Regions from separate parts of the Homo sapiens genome. Here regions 1 and 3 are each linked to region 2. The links are contacts of gene promoters, found by promoter capture Hi-C in human tissues and cell types (Jung and others, 2019). All regions are on one chromosome and are shown on one strand. Each heading gives the region's core, a stretch centred on a gene start or on the middle of the fragment in contact. The rest is flanking DNA. Distances are from core to core; before and after follow the strand shown. Region 1 holds the start of FAM76A (family with sequence similarity 76 member A). Region 2 overlaps SLC9A1 (solute carrier family 9 member A1). Region 3 holds the start of RPS6KA1 (ribosomal protein S6 kinase A1).

Region 1 (3,947 bases), core at 199-2,698, 580 kb after region 2:
ATTACAGGCGTGAGCCACCGCGTCCGGCCGACCCAGGCTGGTCTTAAATCCCAAGGCTCAAGTGATCCTCTGGCCTCAGCCTCCCAAAGTGCTGGGATTACAGTTGTGAGCCATCCCGCCCCGACTCATGTACTGGTTTTGATTCTCACAATGACCTCATTGTACAATTGAGAAAAACGAGGCCGTGAGAAGTTCAGTGATAGATCCAAGGTCATGTAGTTAGTTGTGGAACAGTGATTTGGAAACTTTGCTTTCTGATCCTAATGATTAATGCACATCTTTGGGGGATCCTACAAGGAAGCAGCCAGATTTGGGTTCAGAGAGAGTAAATTTTTTTTGTTGAGGCAGGGAAATAGAAGCCATTAAGTCAGTTTTTAATTGTAAAAAGCGCACGTTGAGGTAAAACTGCAATTAGTCCTGTACGGGTGGTTGGCAGAGCCAAGAGTAACCTATGCCCAAGAGCAGCTACAAGGCAGGACTTGGATAGGTCAGCAGTGCAGGAAGCTTTGCCAACACCTCAAGAACAAGAAGTCTGTCATTCCTTGGGCAGCTCCTATACATGCCAAGCTGGAGCCAAAGAGAGGCAGGGGAGCCCGGAGGGCGTGGCTTGCCTTCCGGAAGTCAGGCCTCGTCAGGAATCACCAGGTGGTTGCTTGCGAGAGAAGCTGGGGGTGAAACCGGAGAAAACAAAGTAGGAAGCAGGTCTGGGCCAATTGCAGCCCACTCTGATGGGGGCCTGCAGGCCACCGGACGCCTGAATATCTGTCCAATCCCTCCTGGAAGGACTGCCATCTCTTTAGTCCCTCTTCCGCAGCATAGGGGTGCTCTCTCTGGGGCTCTCCTTTTCTCTCCTAAGGCCCACAGCCCCACAGTTCCCTATTTAGGTGTCTTAAATTGAGGACACACTTCTAAATTGTCCCTCAGAGTCTCGTCTCCTCCTTTGAGCGAGGCTGGGCGGGCTCCTCCTGCTCCGATTATGAGGAACTTCTTTCCCAAGCTCCCCACCTTCTTTGGGCTTGGACGGCTGCAGAGTTCCAGTTAACTGTGCGCCGCCTTCGTTCCAATTGTACCCCTCGTGCTCCCAGAGGGCAGCTCCATGGAAACCAAAACATCACAAATCCCCGAAGGTATCGCGAGAAGCGCAGATGCGCCTGAGGCCGTGGAGAGGCGGAGCGAGGGCGGGAACGCTGAGCAAGTAGGGCGGAGCCTAAGCTCTTCCGAGGTCCCGGCCGGGAGCCTGTCCCCTCCAGGTGGCGCCCCCGCGTGACTGCGCTTTACATAATCGCGGCCTGGAGCGTCACAGTGGCGTACTCCAGGCCAGACCGAATCAGAGTGGGCGAAAGCTCCGTGTTCCGCCCCTTCCCACTTGATCGACGTCAAAGCCCACCAGTGAGCGGGCGTCTAGAGTCGCCGTGCCCGCCCCAGCCCGCCCGGGTCCGCCCCGACCCGCCTGCGCCCGCCCGCCTGCCGCAGCCAGCAGCCTGCAGCCGCCGCCGGGTTGTGCCTCAGACTGTCAGATAAATCGGCGGGCCGGGCCGGCGGGTCGGTGAGCGCGGCCCGGGCCGGACATGGCGGCGCTCTACGCCTGCACCAAGTGCCACCAGCGCTTCCCCTTCGAGGCGCTGTCTCAGGGGCAGCAGCTGTGCAAGGTGCGCGGGCTGGGGCGGCGGCCGGGAACTGGGGACGCAGGAGGCGCGGCCCGGAGCTCCAGATTCTGTGGGGACGCCCGGCGGGGTCCCCGGAGCAGGGTGTGGCAGGCCCGCCAGGCTGAGGAGCCGCACCCACCCCGCTGGGGGCCGGCGGGGCACGTGCGGGAGCCGGGACCCGGTCCAGGCTCCCGCGGCCGGCGTGTCCGGGTGCTTAGCAACCGTGGGGATTGTTCTCGGACCCCGTGAGGTCGGGGGAGGGACAGCGGGTCCCCTGCTTGCCCTGACTGGTCGCCTTCGGGATCCCTTTGCGCTGCCTCCCCCGCCGCCGCGGTCTCCCTGGTGGGGACCTCCTGCCCCTCCTGGGACTGAACTCCAAAGTTGGGTGCTGCCTTGGAGGAATGTGTCGAACTCGGGCTCCTCACGGGCACTTTTCGACCAGTTTCAGAATCGGAGGTAGCAAGGCTTGATTTTTTTTTTTTTTTTAAGCATCTCACTTTTCGGCCAGTCTCAGAATCGGAGGCAGCAAGGCTTTATGTTTTAAAAAAGCCCCACAGTCAGGCTCACAGATCCGAGGGATCACTTCTCAGCATCCAGTTGGTGGTCTTCGGTCTTCCCTGACTAGCTGCTGATCAGTTTTTGCTCCTGAAGGTCCAACTTCTCTTTTTCTTTTAAGTTGCTTTATCCCACTTTTACTTTTTAAGTGACTAGAGGTGCTGTGAGGCAACAGTTAAAAAGTCACCAAACTGGCTGAAGAATAATGTTGAGGTTATCCAATAATCCAGTTTGTGTCTCTGATTTGGATAACTCATAATTGTCACTTTTGCCTCAGATGGTCATGACTTTCCATTTGCCAGTTTTTATATACCAGGTCTGGGGGAATGCAAGTGCTTGAGTGCCCTTTTTGGCCTCAAAATATGTATATATGATTTTAAGGAAGTTATGTATATATAAATAATAATTTTAATCCAGCACTTTCATTTCACAAGTAAACCGCAAAATCACACAGTGGCAGAAGAACCAGGCCTGGAATTCAGGGCTTCTGATTCCCAGTCTGGGACTTGTTCATATATATGTTTGTTTTACAATTTATGGCTAGTTCCATATAATCCATATAAGTTCTTACTTAACTCCCACATCAACAGTAGGGAAGTGATGCCAGTATTACAGAGGAGAAAAATAAGGCCCAGAAAGTTTAAGTGACTCACTCAAGCATAGTAGCTATGCTAGAAATAGTACCCAGGTCGGCTTCCTACTGAAGGCTGTTTCCATTTGTGACTGCCTTTTAAAATTATATCCTCATTTCATTTCAGGAATGTCGGATTGCACACCCTGTTGTGAAGTGCACCTACTGCAGGACTGAGTACCAGCAGGAGAGGTAGAGTTTTGTTGACCATGAAAGATATTAATAGGCTTTTTTCCTCTTAAAATCTGTAATTGATTGCATTTCATGTACAGATGCTATAATCAGTTGCATTGTAAAATACAGATCTGTAATCAATCACATTATATACAGACTATAATTGCTAAATATTTAGGTCTATGATCCATCTTGAGTTAATTCATGTGTGGGGTGAGATATACAATGAAGGGTATATAATACATGTATTGTTTCCTAGTTATTATCCATTGATTGCTTAAATTTTTTTTTTTTTTTTTTTTTTTTTGAGATGGAGTCTCACTCTGTCACCCAGGCTGGAATGAAGTGGTATGATCTCAGCTCACTGCAACCCTTCCCTCCCAGGTTCAAGCGATTCTTATGCCTCAGCCTCCCAAGTAGCTGAGATTACAGGTGCCTGCCACCATGTCCGGCTAGTTTTTTTGTATTTTTAGTAGACGGGGTTTCACCATCTTGGCCAGGTTGGTCTTGAACTCCTGACCTCGTGATCCACCCGCCTCAGCCTCACAAAGTGCTGGGATTACAGGCGTGAGCCACCACGCCCAGCCTGCTTAAATTTTTAAAGTTCTTTTTAAGACCCTTGATCATTTTATATTGTGATTATAATCTTTTTGTCAAGAAGAAACCAATCCCACAACAGTAAAACATGAGCCTCATGTTTCAATATGTACATACACAGAGATTGAAGAATTTATAAGCCCAAAGAAGATACTTTTGGAAATGTGACAATCCTGATAAGAGTTTGCTAGCTCTAGTCACATTTGAAACTCACTTGCCATTACACTTTCCTTGGGCAAATCTCTTTTTTTGTTTGAAACAGAGTCTCTCTCTCCCAGTCAGGTTGGGGTGCAGTGGAGCCGTCATGGCTCACTGCAGCCTGGACCTCCCGGGCCCAAGTGATC
Region 2 (4,023 bases), core at 1,125-3,624:
GTTCTTTGAGGCAACAGCACAGCAATCCTCGAGCACTTAATTATTCCCTGTTTCACTTTCCTAAAGTAGCTGTAAGCTAAATAAAGCTAGATACCATGACTCGCACCCTTCGGGGCCGTCACATAGTGCAGAAGGCAATGATGCACTATGCGAAGCCCTGAGCACAAAGCCAGGCACTGGCAGGGTCTCAGTAAGTGGTAGGTAGCTCTGTCCTCACTGCCTATACCAGGGCGACAGCCATCACAGGTGCTCAGTGCCCCACAGGTGCAGTTAGCTTCTCTGCCCAGCAAAACAGGTGAGTGAGGCGTGTTTGGGGGTGAGGTGGAAGGGTTGGAAACATCCCAATGAGTTTTAGAAGCAAAGGTCAATGGTTCTGCATGATCTGTGGCTCTGTGTCATTCACATCTCTGTGCCCTTCTCCAGTTCTCCCCTCTATGTGAGCTAAGCACACTCATTGTTTTTTTTTTTTTTTGAAACAGAGTTTCGCTGTCGCCCAGGCTAGAGTGCAGTGAGGCGATCTCGGCTCACAGCAACCTCCACCTCCTGGGTTCAAGCCATTCTCCTGTCTCAACCTCCCAAGTAGCTGGGATTAGAGACTTGCACCATCACACCTGGCTAATTTTTGTATTTTTAGTAGAGATGAGCTTTCACCATGTTGACCAGGCTGGTCTGGAACTCCTGACCTCAAGTGATCCGCCCATCTCAGCCTCCCAAAGTGCCGGGATTACAGGTGTGAGCCACCGCACCTGGCCAAAACACTCATTCTTAACCTTCAGGACCCAGCTCAAAGCTCTGGGAAGCCTTTCCTGACCCACCCACCTCCACTCCTCCCTCCCGCACACCCACAGCTCTGCAGGCTCCTGCTGCAGCACTTCACAGCACATCACAAGTGCCTGTTTACATGCCAGCCTCTCCCTTGAGGCTGGGATTATATTTATCCATCTTTCCATCTTCAGTACAGTATTTATCAGCACGAATCCATTTGCTGAACATGTGTCTCCCCACCTCCCAACTAAAGAACGAGCTCAGACAATTCAGCTAATGGTCTCATTTGCACCCCTAACCTCAGTACTCAGCTCACCCCAATGCCCTCCAGTCCATATACCTAAAACCATCCTCCAGTGCTTGACCCCACCCTCACCTCTTCCTTTAAGGCTCCAGGAATAGTAGCAACTCCCATTAGTGAGCACTTACAATGTGCTCAGGGCTTTACAGACATCACCCCCCTTTAGACTGGGGAAACTGAGGCTCAGACAGGGTGATGTAGCTTAAAAAGGGCACACCTTTTCCCCTTAATACTGGCATCACTCACCTAGCACTTATCATAGCTGGGACTATTTTTAAAACCATCATCTGTTCTGCAAAATTGAGTGCTTTTATAGCTACACATCAAGTTGTCATACAAAATCACCCTTTGCTCATTAAATGTTTCAGACGATCAGTCTTGCTACTCCAGCTAGGTGGGGTAACATAACATAAATGTTATGTAGGAGAAATGGCACAGGACTTGGAAGGGGAAGTCCTGGAGTCCAGCTTCAGCTCTGCCACAGTCAGGCTATATGACACCAGGCGGGTCACCTCCACAGCCCAGGCACGGCAGCTCACGCCTGTAATCCCAGCAATTTGGGAGGACAAGCTGGGGGGATCACTTGAGGTCAGGGGTTCAAAACCAGCCTGGCCAACATGACAAAACCCCATCTCTACTAAAAATACAAAAATTAGCCAGGCGTGGTGGCACAAGCCTGTAATCCCAGCTACTCGGGAGGCAGGAGAATCGCTTGAAGCAGGGAGGCAGAGGTTGCAGTGAGCCAAGATTGTGCCACTGTACTCCAGTTTGGGTGACAGAGAGAATCTCCATCTCAAAATAAAAAATTAAAAAAAATTTTTTTAAAACAGGATAAGTGACTTGCCCAAGGTCACGGTGCTACAAAGTAGTAGAGCTGAGATTTGAACCCAGGTCTGTCAAGCTGCAAAGCTTGTTTTTCTAACCACCATGCCTGTGGGCATGTTTCCAAAGGGAACTGCTCTGGGACATTCTTCTGCAATCCAGAGGTTCTGCCCCAAGTAGAAGCTTCTGGCTGTGCCCAGTGAGATTTCATTCAAGTATCTCATCTAAATCCTACATATACTTCAAGGCCTAGCTCAGTGGTCACTTGCACAGCCTACTGGGATCTTCCCAGGTACGAAATTCTCTCTCCCACCTCTAAACTCCCGTAGAATTCCATCTGCACTTCAAATCACACCCCCTTTCTACTGTCTGACTGTTTTGCATCTGTACCGCATTTCTCAAACAAGTCGTTGAGCTTGGTAAAAGAAGCAGTTCTCATGCATCTCTGCACCTTCCACCAGCCAGGCAGGCAGTGCTCAGTCAGGGAAGCGGGTGGGGTAGGGTGCCTGCTCCCCTCCCCCATCTTGCTGTAACCTGAGTCTTAGGCTTTGCCCAGTTAGGTGAGTTGGCCCCGCCTCATGCTGGCATAACGCCTACCTGGTACAGCATCCAGATTCCTGTGGGTCCTGGCCACCGGGGAGATAAGATCTTATTCCCTGGCTTGATGGCAAAGATGCTATAAAAAGCACAGCACCCAAGTTCAACATTGGCTTGTGATGGACTACACGACCTGAGGGATTCAATGGGTGAAGGCAGAAGCCTCTGGGCTGTCTCAGAGGTCCCAAGACCTGTACTTGGCTCCCCTGTAAGGACCAGTGTAAGGACCAATGGTTTCTCTGCCAAGGACAGCTCCCTAATAGATACCCCAGGAGGAAGCTGCCCTTCTTTAGGCTTAAAGGGCCCACTGGAAGAACTGAGGTTTGCCAATGCTACCAATATCCAAGCCAAAAACCACAGCCCCTCCTCTCGGTCCACTGTCCAGGTCTTACTGCCTAGGGACTCCTGAGTTAGTTAACAGAGCAGGGAAGAAGACTGACTCTGCCATTAATTCACGAGTGGCCTGGGGCCAATCCTCTCTGGGCCTCAACTGGAAAAACAGAGAACTTGATCAAAACATCTCCATTTCCCTTTGGGCCTGGGGGTTACAAGCTATGATAAGGATTTTTCCATCTCTAACATTCTAGAATTAGAATATTCTATACTTTCATTCCTAGAAGCAGAGTGAGAACAGAGAACAGGGACCTTCAGTCCAGGAAACAGCAGAGGCCAGTCAGGGCTTCCTAGCTGCATCCTCAAAGCCTGTCCACCTTCAGAGGCTTTCTCTTGCGTCTGCTGCCTCAAAGGTGGTTGCTTCCCCACTAGCAGAGCCTCAGAGGTGTGCCTGGGCCCTAGCCGCTTTAGGGAAATGGGCAGGTGGCCTGAGTCACCTACTGTGTGTGAGCTGGGCTCACCATGGCAACCCAGCAGACCCAGAGGGCATAAAGAAGCCAGTACCTTCCCTGCTGCACAGTGTAGGCGGAGCATGTTGCATCTGCTTTGATTTCCAACTTAGAAAAGTTTTTCTCTACTTTAAGGACTCATTTCCCCTTCCCTTCTCTCAGGACACAGCTTACTCACTCTGGGGTCCTTCTCCTTGCCTGGAAGGTATTCTGCAGTCCCACAGGCAAACCCCACTCATCCCAGAATTAAGTACCACCTCCTCCAAGGATTCATCCCAGACCAGTTAGTCCTCTACCCTTCTTCAAGTTCCCACCACACAAAAGGCAGAAGCTCTTAACCTTCAGAATCTGTGGCTTACACACTGACAATCAACTGTGTAAAAAAAAAAAAAAAAAAAAAAAATCTGAGTCTATCATGGGCCTTCTCCCTTGATAAAATCACATATATACAACTGTCTGCAGACTATTTTGGGAGCTCCACAAACTTTATCATGGACTCAGAAACAATCTTAGAAACCTAGATCCTAGAACAACAGATCATCCAGTCCATCCTCTCACCTACACCAGAATCCCTTAGCAACCCCTCCTGAATGATGTTCCTCTTCTACCCCTGGCCCACCTCTCAAGGCCGCCTCCTTCAAGAAGCTTCCCTCATCTCTCCTCTCCTCTGATTCCCCCAAGCATCCAGCCTGAACC
Region 3 (4,027 bases), core at 225-2,724, 610 kb before region 2:
AGGTGCCTGCCACCACGCCCTACTAATTTTTTGTATTTTTAGTAGAGACAGGGTTTCATCATGTTAGCCAGGATGGTTTCAATCTCCTGACCTCGTGATCCGCCCGCCTCGGCCTCCCAGTGCTGGGATTACAGGTGTGACACTTTGATTTTTTTAAGCCCTAGTCTGTTCTCAACCTCTTGTGTGACCTTGGGTAAGTCACTTCATCTTTCCGAGCTTGTTTCAGGATTTGTAAACTAGGTGGTGGTAATCATTCAAGGAAATCACATGGCTCGCAGGAAGCTTTTGATAAACATTCCTTCCCATTCCCCTGCCTTAGAACAGCTTTGCAAATAACTGACCAGTCTTCCTGCGAAACCAGCAAGCTTGTCCCTCCAGCAAGCTCACTCCTCACATGTGAATACATCTCAGCACACCCGGACCCCTAAGGCTCTTTAGGTGGAGGCTGAATCTCTCTGGGGCAACCAGTCTCCCTGGCCTTTCACTCCAAGTCCCACCAAGCCTCGGTTCATCCTGGGAGCCTGGTCCCTCCTCAGAGAGTCGCAAACCCAAACTAGTCCAGAGCTGGGGCTGCAGGTGACTCCAGGGAGACCTGACCTGAAAGGACCCCCTTCAAGTGATAGGGCAGAGCACAGATTGCAAAAACGCATATTAAGAAATCACTCTTGGCCGGGCGCGGTGGCTCATGCCTGTAATCCCAGCACTTTGGGAGGCCGAGGCAGGAGGATCACTTGAGCCGGGGAGTCAGAGACCAGCCTAGGTAACAAAGCGAAACTTCGTGTCTCTCTCTCTCTCACTATATACACACATACATACATATATGTGCATATATATAATATTTATTTATACATATTTATTTATATATGTAATATTTATATACATTATGTAAAATCAATCGATCAATCAATCACTCTGTGGTGGCACTATGGGTCCTGATGGTGGTAACAACTGCTGATGCCCATCTTGGCCTGGGGCACTGAGATCGCCCGGAGATCACAGTGTTAGCTTCAGGGCGGGGTAGAAATTAGAGGATAGGGGATCTCTAGGGCCTGGTGAGTTGAGGGCCTAAGGGGAGTGGGTCTCAGGCTCCTTCCAAGCCTCAGCCTAGATCAGGCCCAGGAACCCAGTGTGAATGTGTGTGCTGGGGTCGGGGATAAGGTGCTTCTCTCCCGTTGGAAGGAGAAGGAACATCTGGGCTGGGATTCCAAAAGAGCTGAGCGGGGGAGAACGGTGGCCCTGGTGTGGTGTGTCCAGGGGTACACCACTGGAAGGGAAGGAGCCAGCAGGGCCTCTCCGGCGGAGCCGAGCGCGGGCCGGGGGCTCGCGGCAGGGGCGGGGCCGGCCCTCGGGGCGCGGCGGGGGCGGGGGTCCGCGCTGGGAATGCCGCGCCGCGGGGGCTGGGGCGGGGCTTCTCCGGCTCCGCCCCCGCGCAGGTAGCCAATGGGCGCGGCGGCGCCGGGTGACGGAGGGAGCCGAAGTGCTAGTGCCGCGGCGGCGGCGGCGGACGGCCCAGCCGGAGCGCGAGGGGCTCGGGGGGGCGCGGCGGTTCGGGTCGCAGAGCCAGGGACCCCAGGACCCGGGAGGCGGCGCAGCCGGGGCCGCCGGAGGAGCGCGGGTGACCTGGCGGCGGCGAGATGCCGCTCGCCCAGCTCAAGGAGCCCTGGCCGCTCATGGAGCTAGTGCCTCTGGACCCGGAGGTGAGTGAGCGGGGCGGGGGACGGGCGCCCGCGGCCGGCGAGCCCGGATCCTCACAGGGGCGGGGCGGCCCGAAGCGCCGCTGCAGTCCGGCGGGCGCCCGCGAGGGCGCGAGTGCCCTCCGATCTCTTGCCCACTGTCCGGCTCCACCCCCCTATGCCCGGGTGTGCGTGTGCGAGGGACAGTTCCGCCAAGCGCCGACTACCTCCCCGCCATAGCCAGGAGAGGGGATCCTATGGGGCGCTGAGATCTGGTCGCCTTCACCCCACACCTAGGACCCGTCCCGGCATCTGTCCAGAGCTGTCGGAGCTTCCTCCATTAATGCAGACGGGGAGATCTTCAGTGCCAGATGTCTGGGATTCTACCAGAGACAGGGGTTATGGGACCCCCACTTCTCCCAGGGCCCTCCGCCAAGAGCTCCCTGCTTCTGGCTTCACCGCTGCTGAGCCTAGAAGGATTGCTCCTCTTGACCCCTGGCGGATGCGGAGTGTGGGATGGCACCACCCGTCTGGGGCTGGAACTCCTGGTTTTCTTTGCCCTGAGGCTAGGGCCAGAGGACACCTGTGTGCCCTACCCCAGGCTGTGGAGACGAGAGTGGGGAAGAGCCCTTAGACCTTGTGAAGATGATTCCTGGCAGGGCGTGGGGGGACCTTGGTGCCTGCCTCCCTTCTTATGCCCCTTCCGGTAGGAAGGGCTGGGCCCTTGGGGAGTTTGGCTTCTGCCAGCCCAGACTCCCCAGACAACCCAGCTCCTTCTCTCTCAGAAGCAGCTCCTGACCTCCCTTGAGGGCTCTGTGGCTCCAGTCCCTAAGCGTGCAGAAGGCCACCTCTTCCTGTGCCTTTTGACCCCAGGGTCAAGGTCAAGCCCCTGAATGAGCTGGTGGAAAACTTCCTCCTTAACCTCTTGCTGGGAAGGAAGCAGGTGATATTCTCCTTCCCAGGTGGTTGTTGGGGGTATGCAGGGAGGGAATGGAGACCTCATTTGAGCCCAGGAGCTGAGATGACTTTCTCCCAGCTTGGGCCTGGAGCCCCTGTCTCAGTCCCCTCCTCTGCCCTCTCTTACCTAGGGCAGCCACCAAGTGTCCTGCCTCTCAGGACCACAGGCTTAGATCAGGGTGAGCACCCAGGGTCCCCAGCCCCCAGGGTGTGCTGCCCCTTTAAAGGGATGGCCGACACTGGCTATTGGAGGGTGGGCGCGGCAGGATTAGGTAACCAACCTGAAGGAGCAATTTGGAGTAAATTGCTCTGGGATTCCTGCCATGGGGATTTTACAGGCACTGCTAGGCTGCTCAGAGGTTCTCTCGCTGACTCACCCTCTGAGGTGAGGAACACTGCCCTCTGCAGCCCCTGTACTGCCACCCCGCTACTAGGACCGGGGCGCAAGGTCCTGGGGGTGGTGCTCAGAGGTGGATTCCTTTGCCCAGGCACGCCCCTGGGACCAGGCCTCCAAAGGAGAAGGTAGGGCTGGGAGAGGCTGGGGAGTGACTTTATGCTGATAGGGAGGGTGGACACCCAGGAGCTCGATCCTGGGGCACCACTTCCTGCTTCTCTTTAGGGAATCCTGAGGCAGGGGCCAGCTTCACCAGGGAGCCAGGTTTAACTGGGAAACTCATCTCAGTTTTGAGTTCTGTAACATCTCAGGTCTGTGAGAGGGGAAGACCAGCGGACTTCCTGGGATTGGTGGGGCAGGGGGACGCAATTTCCTCAGGAGCTTCGCTCCAGAAACGATGTGTGATCCTCAGTCAGTCCTCAGCCTGTCTGGGCCTCTGCTTCTCCAGTGGCAAGTGCTAGGTTCTAGCCTCCACTTCCTGGGCCTGAGAGGGTGCAGAGCGCTGGGTACTGTTGTCTGGTCCCCCCTCCCCCACTCCTGGAGGTGCCAGGCGACTGGGTGTTATTGTTTGGGTAACAGGAGCCACAGGGCAGCCACGGCGCAGGTTGGGCTGTTCTCACTGGAGAACAGGGCCTCGCTGTTCTTAGCCCAGGTGACATGTAAGCGATACAGCCGCCTGACCTGCACGTACAGGCACCACCACTGCTGGCAGCTCCTAGCCAGGAAGGAGGCAGGTGAGGGGCTGGTGGGGGACTTTTCACAGGGACCTAGGATCTGGACTGCCCTGCCCTCCCTTAATGCTGCTGAAAATGGGCCGCTGGGAGGCAGGGCCTGGCCCAGGGTGCAGCCCAGGTGGAGTAATCTATGGGAAGCGTGGGTGAGGATTCTGCCTGGGCCTCGCTTAGCCCTGTTGAAAGCAGTAGCCTTGTCCCCAGGCCCAGTTCTGCCACGTACAGAGCTTTACTATGTGCCACCCACTCTGCCTTACGAATGTCACCCCACT

The links. The method cuts DNA at HindIII sites, captures the fragments that hold promoters and counts their contacts. A contact is called where the count stands out against the background at its distance.
Region 1: a contact is called between the fragment with the promoter of FAM76A here and a fragment that was not itself captured in region 2, in 1 of the 25 tissues and cell types used here (liver).
Region 3: a contact is called between the fragment with the promoter of RPS6KA1 here and a fragment that was not itself captured in region 2, in 1 of the 25 tissues and cell types used here (aorta).

The regions. Positions count from the first base shown.
Region 1 is chr1:27,724,513-27,728,459 of GRCh38, forward strand. FAM76A (family with sequence similarity 76 member A) reads left to right here and starts at 1,449. Exons shown (of 9, transcript NM_152660.3): 1 at 1,449-1,649; 2 at 2,960-3,024. The coding sequence starts at 1,569. RefSeq lists silencers at 793-1,435, 1,274-1,973. The HindIII fragment of the contact is 12,090 bases long and covers 1-3,947 here.
Region 2 is chr1:27,139,341-27,143,363 of GRCh38, forward strand. All of the region lies in intron 1 of SLC9A1 (solute carrier family 9 member A1), which reads right to left. Among named protein-coding and RNA genes, the nearest start is that of SLC9A1, 14 kb to the right of the region's middle. RefSeq lists a silencer at 3,353-3,412. The HindIII fragment of the contact is 4,148 bases long and covers 301-4,023 here.
Region 3 is chr1:26,528,287-26,532,313 of GRCh38, forward strand. It overlaps RPS6KA1 (ribosomal protein S6 kinase A1), which reads left to right and starts at 1,475. Exons shown (of 22, transcript NM_002953.4): 1 at 1,475-1,697. The coding sequence starts at 1,635. It overlaps LOC124903884 (a long non-coding RNA gene), which reads right to left and starts at 3,112. Exons shown (of 2, transcript XR_007065558.1): 1 at 2,912-3,112; 2 at 834-2,275. RefSeq lists a silencer at 1,360-1,839 and enhancers at 2,081-2,991, 2,992-3,903. The HindIII fragment of the contact is 11,905 bases long and covers 1-4,027 here.